Linked DNA regions of Homo sapiens: all the other regions are linked to region 1. The links are contacts of gene promoters, found by promoter capture Hi-C in blood cells and fetal thymus (Javierre and others, 2016). All regions are on one chromosome and are shown on one strand. The core of a region is centred on a gene start or on the middle of the fragment in contact, and the rest is flanking DNA. Distances in the headings are between cores, read along the strand shown. Region 1 holds the start of ZNF516 (zinc finger protein 516). Region 2 holds the start of MBP (myelin basic protein). Region 3 overlaps MBP (myelin basic protein). Region 4 overlaps MBP (myelin basic protein).

Region 1 (3,281 bases), core at 334-2,833:
GAATGGTGGGCACGTCAATACTTTTCGGTGAATCAGACTTAAACGTGATTGCTGAAGAATACATCCCACTTAGGCATTCATGCTGAAGCCAGCAACAATTGTCCGTGACCTTTAACATGCCCGCTCTCCAAATCAGTGCAGGTCGTTAGTCACACGGAGCTTACATTTGAGGACTCGCGGATCCTTCATAGCGGAGGTTGTCCCTGTCTTTCTGCCTGACTCCCCCCCGCCCCCCGACCCCGACACACACTCCCCACCGCCCCCAGAAACATCACACATGCAGAATGCCCCCCCCGTCTGATCGCCAGCTTTCGGGCACATGCGCCTCCCTTTGCAGCGCGTCTGGAGTAGTTTCTTTTGTAAACGCCCTAAGTTGGGGAGGGCCGCGGGCTGCGAGTGTGAGGCGCAGAGAGAGACGCCGCCGCTGAGGTAACCGCCAGGATTGCAGCGCTGATTGCTACGCGGAGCCACGTTGGGCGTCTTGGACGGAATCCACCTCCACTGCGGAGTTATCACGAGGAGAAGGAGAACAATACGGCCAGGAGCCTGGTGGGAGAAGATAGTGTTACCCCTCCGCAGGCCGCAGCTCCCCGGGTCTACGTCACCGGCCGTGAAGGGGCGCTCGCCCTCGCTAGCTCCGACCCGCCCCTCCCCCGCCCCCGCGCGCCCGCCCTCCCCTCCCCCACCCCGGCCATCCCTGCCCTGTAACAGGAGAGCGTTTTGGAGTCAAATTAGGATTTCTAGTCCCAGACTCAACTTATTACAACTAACTACTGCTCGTGGGGAGTAGGTGAGGTGAAGAAATGAAGTTTTAAGAACAGAAAAATAAGAGTTGAACTTTCGAGGCTACCGGTAAACAACCCCTTCATTTTTAAATGGCCGGGTGGCAGAGCCGCTGTTTGAAGTCTTTCCAGCGGGACCTCTGTGACCCTTGATTCAGGACTTAATGTATTGATCCTGCATCTGAACACCCCCAGAGGCATTTACCAGGAAGTTGAGTGACACGCACACGCTACGCCGTGTGTAATGCACACGCACCTGGGACCCCCGAAGGGGTGTCCCCATTTCAGTCCAGATGGGGCGCAGTGCCCAGGTACCCGCCGGCGGGACCCGCATCCCGAGCACGTCTGTACGTATGGATGCGCGTGTGCGCGCGGAAACGGCCTCCGGGAGCCGGGGCTGCAGCAGCCTTAGACCTTGACGAGGGGCGACCACTGGCCGCTGGAACCGTGATTCAGTGCTATTAGGGGAGGAATTGGCTGTGTCTGAGTCACTGCAAGCCTCCAGACTGTCCCCTCAGTGTGGCAGAACTTTGTGCTGATGAGACAATAGTGGAGTGTGCGTTTCCTACAGGGCAGACCATTTCCAGGCTGGGGGAAGCCTCCGGCCTGCGCCGGGCCGTGAGCGCCCGGCCCCCTCCCCGTGCCGCGCAGCCCCCCGAGCCCGGCTCGCGCCGGGGCCCCCGCGGGGCGGACGCGTCCGGGGCGCGCGCGGGCGGCGCGAGGAGGGGGCCGGGCGCGTGGCGGGCCCCGCGCGCCCTCGCGCGTCCCCCGCGCCCGGGCGCAGCTGGCGCGGTCGGTCTAGTGCAGCGCTCGGCTCCGCGCCGCGGGCGCTCGGCTTCACCTTCAGATGCGCGGGGCGTGCGCGTCCTCCTCCCCAGGCCCGCCGCCTCCCTGCCAAGGTAGGGGCCGCGGGCGGGGGGAGGGCTGCGCCGCAGGGGCCGCGGGCGGGCGGTGGGCGCGGGGCCCGGAGCCCCGACGTGCCCCGTACTCTGGTGTGCGCCGCTGGGGGTAGGGGGGGAGGCGCTGGGGAGGGGGGTGCGCCGGGGAGGGGCCCCCCGGGCGCGGGGAGGGCTACTTGGCTTTCCCGGTGGGTAGTTGCTCTGCTCGTCAATTCCAGGATAGGGGAAGATGCAACTTCGGGCGGCGGGGCGAGCGCCCGGGAGGTGGTTTTTACCGCAGTGGAGGGGCGGGGTGGGGGCCGGGGTGGGAGCGCGGAAGAGGCTCTGGCTTTGTACACTTTGTCAAAGGCGACGCGGGAGGAGGGGAGCTCGGATGCGCTCTCCATCCATTAGGAGACAAAGAGCAAATTGCCTTACTTTAAAGTAAAACGCTCCGGCTAATGAAGGTGGGTGATGGGGCTGCGGGCCCGAGGAGCCGCTTCAATTATTAAGGGTTTGGCGGATGGGATCGATGCCTGTGGGCACCGCGCGCTGCTGCCTAGGGGACGTGTTTGCGTGGAGGTGGGGGTGGCCTTGTTTTTTACGGCCCCCTCCCCGGCTGCTTGCCAGTCTGCTGGGAGCTTCTAAGTGACCCTAACGTTAAAGAAGTGAGAGGTCCTGGAAGGGAAGTTCGGGCGGGGGTGGGGGTGGGGGCGAGGGTCTGGCACCGACTCGGAGAGGGGTGGGCAGGGACTCCTCGGAGCTGCGCCCCGCCGGGTGCGGGTGGGGGAGGCCTCGGTGGCGAGATGAACCCGGGTGTATGAAGGAAGAATGCGGTGGGGTGTGTGTGGTTGGGCGGGAGGTGGGGGGAGGCGCCTCCGCTGCCATTTCCAGGGAGAACTAACAGACTGAATAGTTACGATCAGTATTTAGATTAAACCGCCTCAAGTTTTAACGAAACTTTGTATGAATAAGTTTGTTAAATGGCAGCCGAGTGGGGTATTTAAAAGCAGCAGTTTATGTGTGTGGTGAGGAAAGCCAGTGGACCCCCGCAATTAGGGACCAGAGGGAACCAGCCTTTTACCCGAAAAATGTGGGTCTGTAAGTCAGCCTCATCTATTATCAGCGTTAATAAGCTTCCCGCAGCAGACCGGGAGCTCTGGGGGCTGTGTGTGTGTCTTACTCATTCCGCTGATAAAGAGTCACCGGGTCTCCGGGTGTGCAAAGATCAACTTGCGCAGCCCTCTTTTTAAATATATTCATTCTGTGCTTTATTTAATCCAGATGCACAAAAAGCCATTTGCTGCTGCATTGTTGGTTTACATTTTTTGAAAAGGCGACTGGTGTAACCTGTGGAATTTGAAATGCAAATAAGAGCCTGTGGGAGTAGAGGCAGAACAGATCAGCATTTATAAAGTGGAAAAGATTTAATGTCTTTGAAATCATTGCAGGGGAAGAAACTGGAGGGGGAGTGTGATTTTTCAGGGAGTGAATTGTGACGTCAGGTCTTTTTGGAAAAGATGTTATTTTTAAGGTCTGAAACCCGGCTAGGTAAAGTGCTTACAGGAAAAACAGATTACAAGATTAACATCTGTTAACATGATCGTTTATCTCCAGCCAA
Region 2 (3,281 bases), core at 615-3,114, 640 kb before region 1:
TTTTCTAACCGGGAGGGCATGAAAGCCCCCAAGATAAGACCAGTTGATCCAAATGTGAATCCACTGTTTTATTAAATAGTATTATCTACATGTTTTCTTTGAAGAATCCATGACTTTTCTAAACTGCCTGGCTGCCCATCTGTGTGGACACTCTATCCCAACAAAATATGCACGGTGAAATTTCATAAATACTTTAAAAAGACTTTTAACTGGAACTTGTGGAGCCTGACATTTGTAGGGCTGACTGTTGGCATATGTAGTGTTTCAGGAAACCACTGTAACACCAGCAGAAGGAGCACCAAACAGAAGGCCGCGTGTGCAGCTGTCACTGTGGCCTGAGGGACGCTCCAGAGCCCAGCACACAGGGACATCTGCAGGCAGGAAGGTGGCCCCGCCCTGTGGAGTCACTGAGATAAAGCCAAGAGATATTTTGGGGAGGAAAAGCTGTTTCTGATGCTAAAGCAGGTATCTAAAATGGGACCCATTTTAGTGTTCCAGCTTCCCCAGCCTGAGCTTTGAGTGACTTGAGCTGGGACCTGGGTGCACCCGGGTTCATTGTCACCACCCGTGCTCCTAGGGCAGCTGTCCAGCCTCCCACGCCCACTCCGCTCATCCTTGACTTAAAGTGAGGTTGTGGGGCAGAAAAATTGGAGAAACACACTATCTTTGGCACCCTTTTCCCTCCTCACCTTCAGCCTCAAAGTCTCAGAACCCTCCTGCCCCCTCCACTTGAAAATCTCTCCTGAGGAAACGACCAGACTGAATGCTTTTGCGTCGTTGTGGAAGTATTTCTCTTCCAGTTGCCAGCATTTGAAGACAGTTGCTAAATCCTCCGGGGCTTTGGGGGAGGCTGGTTTTAGGCCGAAACCCCGACCCCGTGCTGAAGTCTGAGTCCCGCCTCCCAGCGCGGGCCGGGACAGCGCTCACCCCTCTCCCTCACTTCCTAACAAACTGTGTGGGTCCCAGGCTGCTCCAGGTCCCCTGGAAGCTCCAGATCCAGATCCCTGACTGGGGGTGTAGGTCAGGAGGAACGCGGGGCCTCATTCTGGGACTCCCCCAACCTCCTCCTCTTCCACCATCAGGAGGCTGAGAATCCAGAGAAAGATCTCTGACCACTAAATCTGTGTGCAGGTGAGTCACGGCTAAACAGCAGGCTTTTTCTTTTTAACAAGACAGCGACGAAGACCACGATGTCTCTGGGCTGCAGGACCAGGCTGCTTCCTCGCACCTGCGCGTGTTTTGCTGTCTTTTCCGCGCACGCTTCCTGCGCCGGTCCTGCAGGAGAAGGTGCGCCCCTAGCTCCCAGCTCCCAGCTCCCAGCTCCCAGAGGAGCACCTGCCAGCCGGACATGGGCCTGGCCTGGGCTCCAGGGGAGGGAGGGAGTGCCTTGGGAGGACCTGCCGGCTCCTTTCGCCTCCAGGCCGGGCTGACTCTCCTCCTGCAGGGCCGGGGCTGCGCCAAGTCTATCGGCAGTTTCTGGGGTTTCCAGCCCCTGAGGACGCGGGGAGATGCGGCCTGGCACCCCTCCCGCGAGGTCGAGGTCGGGGTCGGGGTGGGTTCGGAGGCCAAGCCTCCGAACGGGAAGGGTCGACGGGCCGCAGTTCGGAGCCCAGTTCGGCAGCGGGCGAGGCTCCAGGCCGCCCCTCCGAGGTCTGACCCTGCGCGTGGGCCCCGTGCGCCCCCCAAGTTCCGCGTGGGCAGAGCGGGCCCGGGGTCCTCCGAGCTCCCGGGGCGGCGCCGGCGGCCGCGTCCAGGTGGGGCGGGCCCGGCGGGATCGGCCTGTGTTTACCTGGCTCGCAGGAAGCCCGGGGAGGCGGGGCCGGGGAGCTGGGTGCGCGCCCGTCCCTCGGAGCCGCCGCCGTCAGTCACCGCCGCCGCGCGCCAGAGAGAAGCAGCCTCCGGCCCCGGCGGCCCCTGTCTCCCGACCCCGGAAGGCGAAGCAGGCTGCCCGGGGACCCCGCGCGTGGGCGCTTGAAGCCGAGACCAGCCTGCCCGGGCCTGGGCAGGCGGAGCAGGGCCTTGGACCCCGCGGCGCCCCTCGGCCTCGGAGCAACGAGCGCAGCGCCGGTGGGTGACCCTCGGGGACGGGCGGGCTGCTCTGCCGCCTTTGTCTCTGTGCCCCTCCGAGTGGGGACCGCGGAGACCTGGGCGGGACCCCGGACCGGAGCCCCGCGGGAGCCGGGGGCGCAAGATCGGGGACAGGAGCTATCCCGACGCCCGGACTCCGGGTCCCTTTCTTGGCTGGGGACGCGCAGGGAGAACCTAGGCAGCGGAGCAGGTGGCCGAGCAGGTAGCAGCCGGCGGCCTCCCTGACCCGAACCCAAGTCGCCGCCCCCGATCCCCATTGCGCGGGGGCTGGGCGCGGGTGTAGACGCGGGTTTACAGCGCCGGGGCCCGACCCTGACAGGTGTCCAGGGGTGGACTCCAGCCAGGCCCGGCGGTCCCAGGGTCGCTGAAACCGCTCGGCCTCGGGCCGTGGGGCTGAGGGGAGGAGTCTAGGGTGGGAGGGGACGGCGGTCAAAAGCGGCCACTCTGGGCGGGTGTGGAGAGGGTGCTGGCTGCCAGGGCGGGCTGGGGGGTCCTCCCGGCTCGCGGCGCCTGCTAATCACACCCCGGGGGCCCCGCGCGCGATCGCGCTCCTGCCCCTGCCCCCGGGGCGAAGCGCAGTCTCCCTCTGAGCTCCAGGGGCGGCCAGGAGAGCCCGGGTCCGGGCTTCCGCCTTCGCAGGGCCTGTCTCGGGCTCTTCGGCCGGGCCCGTCGCTGCGCCCACCTGGGCCCACGTGCGCCGCCCGCAGCCGCCCGCCGGCCCGCCCGGGTCTTCCCGGCAGTCCCCTCCTGGGCCCCACTGCCTGTCCTGGGCCGGGTGCGTCCGTTTTCCGTGGCCCCCGAGGCCGGGGTGTGTGACCTGCGGTCATTTGCCGCCACACTAGATTTTCCGGGGTGCTGGGGGCAGCGCCTTGTGTCCTTTCGCGTCCACCTGAGCCCCCCCGTTTTGGAAGGTGGAGTGGGGCTTGGGAAAAGGTTCAAGCGTCTTTGGGGACCCCCGTGCGACTCTGGCTGGAAACAGGCGAGCTCTGGTTCCTTGTTCCGTTTTCCAATTGCAACAACGTGAGAATCAACAAGTGCTCGGTTTCTCTGCGCGTGGGTGAGGGGCGCGTGGGCTCGCTGGGTGCTGGGGTGGGGAGGGGGCGTGGACTTCGTTCCGGGGAGGCCTCTGCCTCGTCTGACCACAGAACGCCCCGCCTGGAAAGAGAGTTTTTCAGAGGAAGGAAACGTCAGGG
Region 3 (3,281 bases), core at 291-2,790, 620 kb before region 1:
CCCTGCATGTTACCCTGTAGGGCTGCTGCAAGGCGGCACCACAGGTGGGCGTCCTGAAACAGCAGAAGCAGCCCCCCACACACACACAGTCCTGGAGGCCAGAAGTGCAAAGTCAAGGCGTTGGCAGAGTGGGAGCTCTGCAGGAGGCTCTGTCTTCACCTCTTCCAGCTTCTGGTGGCTGCGGCAATCCCTGGTGTCCCTGGCCTTGTAGCCATGTCATTCCAAATCTCTGCCTCCATTGTCATGTGGTGTTTCTCCCTGTGTGAAATGCCGTGTATCTATGTCCAAAATTCCCTCTCCTTGACCAGGCACAGTGCTGCATGCCTCTAATCCCAGCATTTTGGGAGGCTGAGATGGGTGGATCACCTAAGGTCAGGAGTTCGAGACCAGCCTGGCCAACATGGTGAAACCCCCATCTCTACTAAAAATACAAAAAATTAGCCAGGTGTGGTGGCGGACACCTGTAATCCCAGCTACTCTGGAGTCTGAGGCAGGAGATTGCTTGAACCCGGGAGGCGGAGGTGGCAGTGAGCTGAGATCGCACCATCGCACTCCAGCCTCGGCAACAAGAGTGAAACTCTGTCTCAAAAAAAAAAATCCCTCTCCTTTCTCTTGTAAGAACATCAGTCATTGCATTTAGAGCCCACTGTAATCCAGGATGACCTCATCTTAACTTGAGGACATCTACAAAACCTTCCTTCCAAATCAGGCCACCTTCACAGGTCCTGGGGTCAGGACTTGGACATACCTTTTAGGCAGACACGATCCACCACATACTATCCTGGAAGAGTTTCTCGACCTGCACGGTCAGGGTTCGTGGCCACCCACGTGCTCCTAGGCGTTCTCCACACACATGCCTCCCCTGCAAACAGCCGGCCCCTGTCCTGGCCGCCCGTCTCTCTCCCGGCCTTCCATGTGGCAGCAGCCTCGAGCTTGTGGGTGGGACAGAGTCCACAGGGAGCTGGAAACAGAGAAGGGGGAGGGGGAGGGAGATGAGGAAGAGAGGGATCTGACCCTCCTCCATAGGAAAACCTCAGCTTCCCCTTTGCACCGATGTTGGAAAAAACTTCTGCATCTCCCTCCCCGTTATGCACGAGGGCTGGGAAAGCCGGCGCACCCAGCGTCAGTGGCGTTCTCCTCATGTTCGGTTTGCCATCGTGATGAACACGCAATCAGGACATGTCCGACCTCCCGCAGGTGTGTGTGGAAGGTGGGAACGGGATGACGGAAGGAGTGTGCAGCGCGCATCCCACAGCTTTGCCGCCACCCGCCTGGGTGAAACCAAACGCGTCTTCTTCCCACGCCTTGTCCTCAGCTCCGAAATGAGCTGTTTCTTTTTGCCGCGCGCGCACGTGTGTGTGTGTGTGTGTGTGCGTGTGCACGGTGTTCATTCTACGGGTTTTTGGTGACGTTGGTAGCTGTGTACTATGCTCCGAACACAGAGTGTTACAATCATACTTTTGGTTTGAGAAATAAAAATGATTGCTTGCAGAACACAGTCTTCAGTGCTTGGGTATTGGTAGAATAAGAGGAAGAGGAATGGAGGGAGGGACGTCGGGGGAGAGAGAAAGGAGACAAGGATAGTGAAAGAAGAGAAGTCCCGTCACTTGGTTTCATTTATTTTCTTTCAGATATCTTTGGTTTTATTTTATATATGAGTTGCTTGTTCTTTGAAATTTGTTCTCCAGGATTTCTTTTTCAAATGTCAAAGAAGCAGAGTTATAGGGCCTGCCCCTCCGACTTGAGGCTGTCACTGTCCGTGTTCTAGGGGTGAGGGGCTGTTTTCTCTCTGCAGGGAGGGTGGGCGGTGTCTACAGCTCTTACTGAGCCTGCCAAGCCAGGGCGTGGTCTCCCAAGCAGTTACCAACGGCTGAGGAGATCACCAGGTCTCAGCATGTTGGTGGTGGCCCTGGTGAATCCCGCCCTGGGTGCTGGAGAGGAGGCAGAGGCCTCACAAGACCGAGTGGACCTGCCCAGGGCTCACACGACACCAGGGCCCTCCCGTGGGGGTCTCCTTCCTGCAGCCCACAGCCTTCTGCTGCTGCCCCTGCCTGGCCTTTAGCGTCTCTACAAAGGGGCACGACAATCCTCTGGAATTTCCACAGTTCCACTGTTTATTCAGGTTTTCCTTTCCTGGGATACTGGGTCTGCACCTCTCTCTACCTGAATTCTACATGGTATCTCCTTTATTATTTTGCACACAGTTGAGGGGTCAGAGAAGCCTTTTCTGATGTGTGCAGATCCACAGTAGCGTTTCCCTTAGTTGCCTTCTTCAAGAAGCTGTAGTCATGGCACCTCCAAAATACAGAACCGTGCCCATGAGCACTGGGCTCCTCGGTGGATGCTGGGTGATGCTGTGTTTCATCTGACGGACCCACAGAGTCGTGTCTTCAGCGTGTATTTATGGAGCTTTTCCTCCCAGGCAAACATTGCCAGGCTTTCTGAACAGGCGCTGAGAACCCCGAGACCCAGCGAGAGGTCTAGCACAGGACTGGAGCAGCCACGAGGCAATACAGCCAGCTCAGCTTTAAGGTCCCGTACACCGCGAAGACTCCAAAGCACCTGGGATGTCGAAAACATTGCTCCTGGGATTTTAAAAAGCAGAGAAAGCAGAAAAAGATGCCTTCATGGTGGGCTCTTCAAATTCTACTAGCAGAGGCACAAGTTAAGACTTTCCCAAGTGGATCCTGCTGGTTAGATTTTATTAAATTAACCACAATTTATATGTTTTATAATATATTCTCATGTGTCTGTTTAGGTATAACATGTTACAGTTTCCAAATACAGAAAAAAAAATCTTATCTAATTTATCTGATGCCTAGGGAAGTGGTCTTAGAACAAAAGTTCCATACACACTTATGGAATGGAGAAAGGCCCCTTGTCCGGCGGTGACCAGCAACAGCTGCAAGGGCTGCTGGGAAATGTAGTCCCTGCCAGGGCAGCCAGGTGGCCAGTGCAAGGCAGGTGGTGTGGGGAGAGGGGCAGTTCTCTCACTACATGGAGAAGGGAAGGTGGGGGACTGGGGAGAAGGTCCTTGTGACACAAGCATGGGAAATCTCTATTCTGAAAAAAAAAAAAAAATTCACATATGTCATAGGTTTTTGCCCCCTGATCTATAAGAAGAAGGTTCTCGAACACAAATCACCTGTAGTGCTTCTGAAAGCAAAGAGTTCAGGGCCCAAGAATGTGTGTTTCTAAGAAGTTCTCAGGTGCTGATGGCCGGTCCCCACACCGCATCACGCTGCCTCGTATCCGCTTCTGAGACCCTCACCACTGCACAC
Region 4 (3,281 bases), core at 782-3,281, 570 kb before region 1:
TTTTGCTTACAGGAAATGTGTTCATCATAGGGGAATATTTTATATTTTTGGAATAGCAATATCGGGTCTCAAAAACAAACCTTATATTTGAGTAGAAATTAGTCATGAAATTTCCCAGGCCCGTATGTACTTTCTGCACGCGTCCTGTGTCCCTGTATGACCTAGAGATGTTGAACCATCAGAGAACTGAGTTGAGAAGGTGGAGAAAAAGGCGGATTTGGAGTCCTGTCTGCCATCACTATTCAGGGTCCACCTGTGGCCGCTTTGGTGTGAGGGATAAACAGAGTGGACGCACCATAGCTGTGGGACCAACGTGTGCACAAGCTGGCGCACAGGACACAAAATTCCTCCTCATGCTTATGCTGCCCCCACCCTCGAAACCAGCCTGGGAAGTGGATACAGGGAAGTGGCTGCCGCTAGGTTATCCCCCGCCACGCACTTAAAGCAAAGTGCTGTGATTTAAAGATCAGCTTTCACTCTGCATCTGAAACGCCTCATTTCTAAGATGCGGCATTGTTCTACTCTCCGGTGAGAAGGGCTTCCCACGCCAATGGGAGGACACTACTGGTCCTAGTGGTGTCCCGCTTGGAGAGACATTAAGCATGAAGAAAATGCATCTATGATCAATAACGACGGTAGCTGAATCGTACTTAATTAGTTCTTAAATAACACTTATTATTTTGTAATTAGTGAAGAATATGATCTCCTATTAGCATAGAAGCAGGATGTAAAAAAATATGACATGAATTCCTAGCTGAGGAAAGACTATCGGGAAATTATTTATTTTCCAAGTTTTAGTGTCTTCTGAAATTAACTGGATAGATATGAAAAGTGTACATAGCCAGCTATCTTTGGCTCCCTCTGCTGAAACAGAAACAATCCATTTTAACTATGTTTAAAAAGCTCTCTCTGGGCGCCAGGCACTGTGCTAGGCCTGAGGGTTGGGAAGGTGTGTAAGGCACTGTTCTTGTTCTCACAGTATTCACCGCATCACAGGGAGGGGAATAAAACAATGGACTGTTCTGGGAGTTTCTGTAATAGAGACACAGGAAAATCCGCAGAAGTCACAGGCTGCTGGGAGCCTGGAAGCCATGGGGGTGAGGTCAGAGGCCCCGAGGTGAGGTCAGAGTCCCCGAGGTGAGGCCCCCAAGGCTCAGCTCCGTGGTGGCGGCTGCTGCTCTTTGTCCTCCCAAAGAGGCTGAGAGTGTTTATTCCAGTCCCAGGAAAGTTTCCCTCCCACCACATCTCTAGCAATGCCAGACATCAGTTTGTTTTCTACTTGTGTTAAAAAGAAATCTCATTTTTGTTTCGCTCTGTATTTCTCTGATTACTAGTGAGTTTGAACATTCTCTGCATTTCATTGCTTATTAGTAACTGTTTCGTGGGACTCTGTGACTCGCAATCTGGAAAGCAGCAGCTTGGTTTCTACAGCGGCCAACCAGCAACAGAAGCCTGGCAGGTGTACACAAAGTTACAACAAATGTGAACACCTTAATTGGCTGCTATTTGTCATTCTAGAATCAGGCAACACCTCTTTCTGCAAAACAGAATGAGTGCTCCAATGAGCCGAGCAGAGGAGGTTGGTTTATAAACAGACTGAGGAAAGCAGACACAGAGAACAAAATGCAGGCGGATGTGTGGTGGTTCCAAGATGACTTCCCCATAAAGGTTAAAGCAGACGGGACTTCCTCGTCATCTGGGCTAAACCTGGCCTGCTTGGAAGTTGGGCTGTTACCTCTCCTGATTGCTCAGAAGGTCAAATAAAGATCTTCATTTGGGCTTGGTACCATACTTCATACGGGGGCGTCTGCTGGGCCCAGTGCAGGAGCTCAGTCCAAACCAGTGTCCTCTTATCAATTTAATTTCACAACGTGAAGGCAAATTCTTCCCTCCTCAATTTTGTGAGTCCAATAACCCGTGTGTTTTTTATCTGTTAATCACACCAGACAGCATTGAATTGTAGAAACAATGCCGTAAACATTGGTTGGTGGGGACCTTACCCACCCATCCCCTCCTGTCTGCCCAGGGATGGGAATGGATACACACACACACAAACACACACACACACACACACACGGGATGGAGGGTTTCCAGATAGGGCTCTTAGTGACCAGGAGGCGGAGTGTAGGGCCCTGGCTGGTGTGAGCTCAGAGGGCTGGACTTCTCTCCAGGAACAAACAGCCTGCAGTACATAAGTGAGTCACACTAGGTCTGAATCAGACTTCAGGGTGGTCTTAATGGCTGTGCCTGCCCCTCTCTCCAGAAGGAAAAGAATGTAAAATTGAGACTATGTACATATTATGGTCCTGGGTTAAAGGCTCCCAGGAAATGAGAGATTGGGTGGAAAATTGGTACAAACTTAAGTGCAGAGACCAGGGTGGGGCGCTGCAGGGAGTGGCACCCGAGAGAAGCAGCCTCCCGGTGCTGCTGGTGGGTAGCACCAGGGCCAGCGCGGCTGCCCACAGCACTGACGCCCGCTCAGTGAAAGCTCCAGTGTGACTCATTCCTCCTCCAGAAATACTCCTTGGCCATGTGCATTCTGAGAAGTGAACAGGAAATTAGTGCAACACGGTTAGGGTTGAAAAACACAAATGTGAACAAGCTGGATGGTGGTTGTGGAGCCTGGTGAGGTGTGAACAGTAACTGAAATGCTAGCGGGCTGTGCAAGCAGTCTGTGCGTGCCGACATGACGTCACCTCCAGGATCCCTCTTTCCCTGGCAAAAGCAAGAAGGAGCATATCATCCACAGTGTGATGCCATTTATGTGAAGACAGAAAGGAGGGAAAAGAATACCCATGTGTCATTGTCTGAAGGTGCCCAGATGATTGTGCAAAGTCTGGAAGGAGCTGGAAATGCCAGCTGCCTCCCAGAAGGGGGCGGGGGGGCATCCAGGAGACCCCGGGGTTTCAGCACGCAGCCACTGTGCACTTTCTAGAGCATTTGAATCATTCAATGTGCAAGTGTGACATTTCAAAATAGTTAAGTAAAATTGATTACAAATATATCAGGAAGCTGAACCATGTCTTCTCTCTGCACTGGTGATCAAACTATGTACTGAAAACTTTAAACTCGAAAAACAAGCTCACACTGCCATTCGGGCCCCAAACGACAGGCAAAGGGAGGCCCAGAGGAGAAACTCTGAAGCCGAAGATTCCCAGAGGAGTGGCCAGGGGGCCTGGCCCACCCCATAACACCACAACAGGCCGCTTCCTCCCCTGGAATGCAAAAGTGCCTCCGGACATCAGCTTCGTTTTCTGTCCCTAAAAGGACTCATTCTCCCA

Evidence for each region. The method cuts DNA at HindIII sites, captures the fragments that hold promoters and counts their contacts. A CHiCAGO score of 5 or more calls a contact.
Region 2: a contact is called between the fragment with the promoter of MBP here and the fragment with the promoter of ZNF516 in region 1, in 1 of 17 cell types (monocytes). The highest score is 5.8, in monocytes.
Region 3: a contact is called between a fragment that was not itself captured here and the fragment with the promoter of ZNF516 in region 1, in 1 of 17 cell types (erythroblasts). The highest score is 6.6, in erythroblasts.
Region 4: a contact is called between a fragment that was not itself captured here and the fragment with the promoter of ZNF516 in region 1, in 3 of 17 cell types (monocytes, neutrophils and total B cells). The highest score is 9.6, in monocytes.

What each region holds. Positions count from the first base shown.
Region 1 is chr18:76,493,544-76,496,824 of GRCh38, reverse strand. It overlaps ZNF516 (zinc finger protein 516), which reads left to right and starts at 1,583. Exons shown (of 7, transcript NM_014643.4): 1 at 1,583-1,681. It overlaps ZNF516-DT (ZNF516 divergent transcript), which reads right to left and starts at 1,486. Exons shown (of 2, transcript NR_164145.1): 1 at 1,039-1,486; 2 at 1-546. ZNF516-AS1 (ZNF516 antisense RNA 1) reads right to left here. Exons shown (of 2, transcript NR_136504.1): 2 at 2,907-3,281. RefSeq lists silencers at 1,474-1,533, 1,664-1,763, 2,464-2,553. The HindIII fragment of the contact is 7,170 bases long and covers 1-2,798 here.
Region 2 is chr18:77,131,366-77,134,646 of GRCh38, reverse strand. It overlaps MBP (myelin basic protein), which reads left to right and starts at 1,864. Exons shown (of 9, transcript NM_001025101.2): 1 at 1,864-2,067. RefSeq lists a silencer at 1,600-2,899. The HindIII fragment of the contact is 15,459 bases long and covers 1-3,281 here.
Region 3 is chr18:77,110,262-77,113,542 of GRCh38, reverse strand. All of the region lies in intron 1 of MBP (myelin basic protein), which reads left to right. Among named protein-coding and RNA genes, the nearest start is that of MBP, 21 kb to the left of the region's middle. RefSeq lists enhancers at 1-18, 1,129-1,630, 1,631-2,132. The HindIII fragment of the contact is 3,851 bases long and covers 1-3,281 here.
Region 4 is chr18:77,066,812-77,070,092 of GRCh38, reverse strand. The region is part of intron 2 of MBP (myelin basic protein); the gene reads left to right. Among named protein-coding and RNA genes, the nearest start is that of MBP, 64 kb to the left of the region's middle. RefSeq lists an enhancer at 2,680-2,769. The HindIII fragment of the contact is 5,207 bases long and covers 1-3,281 here.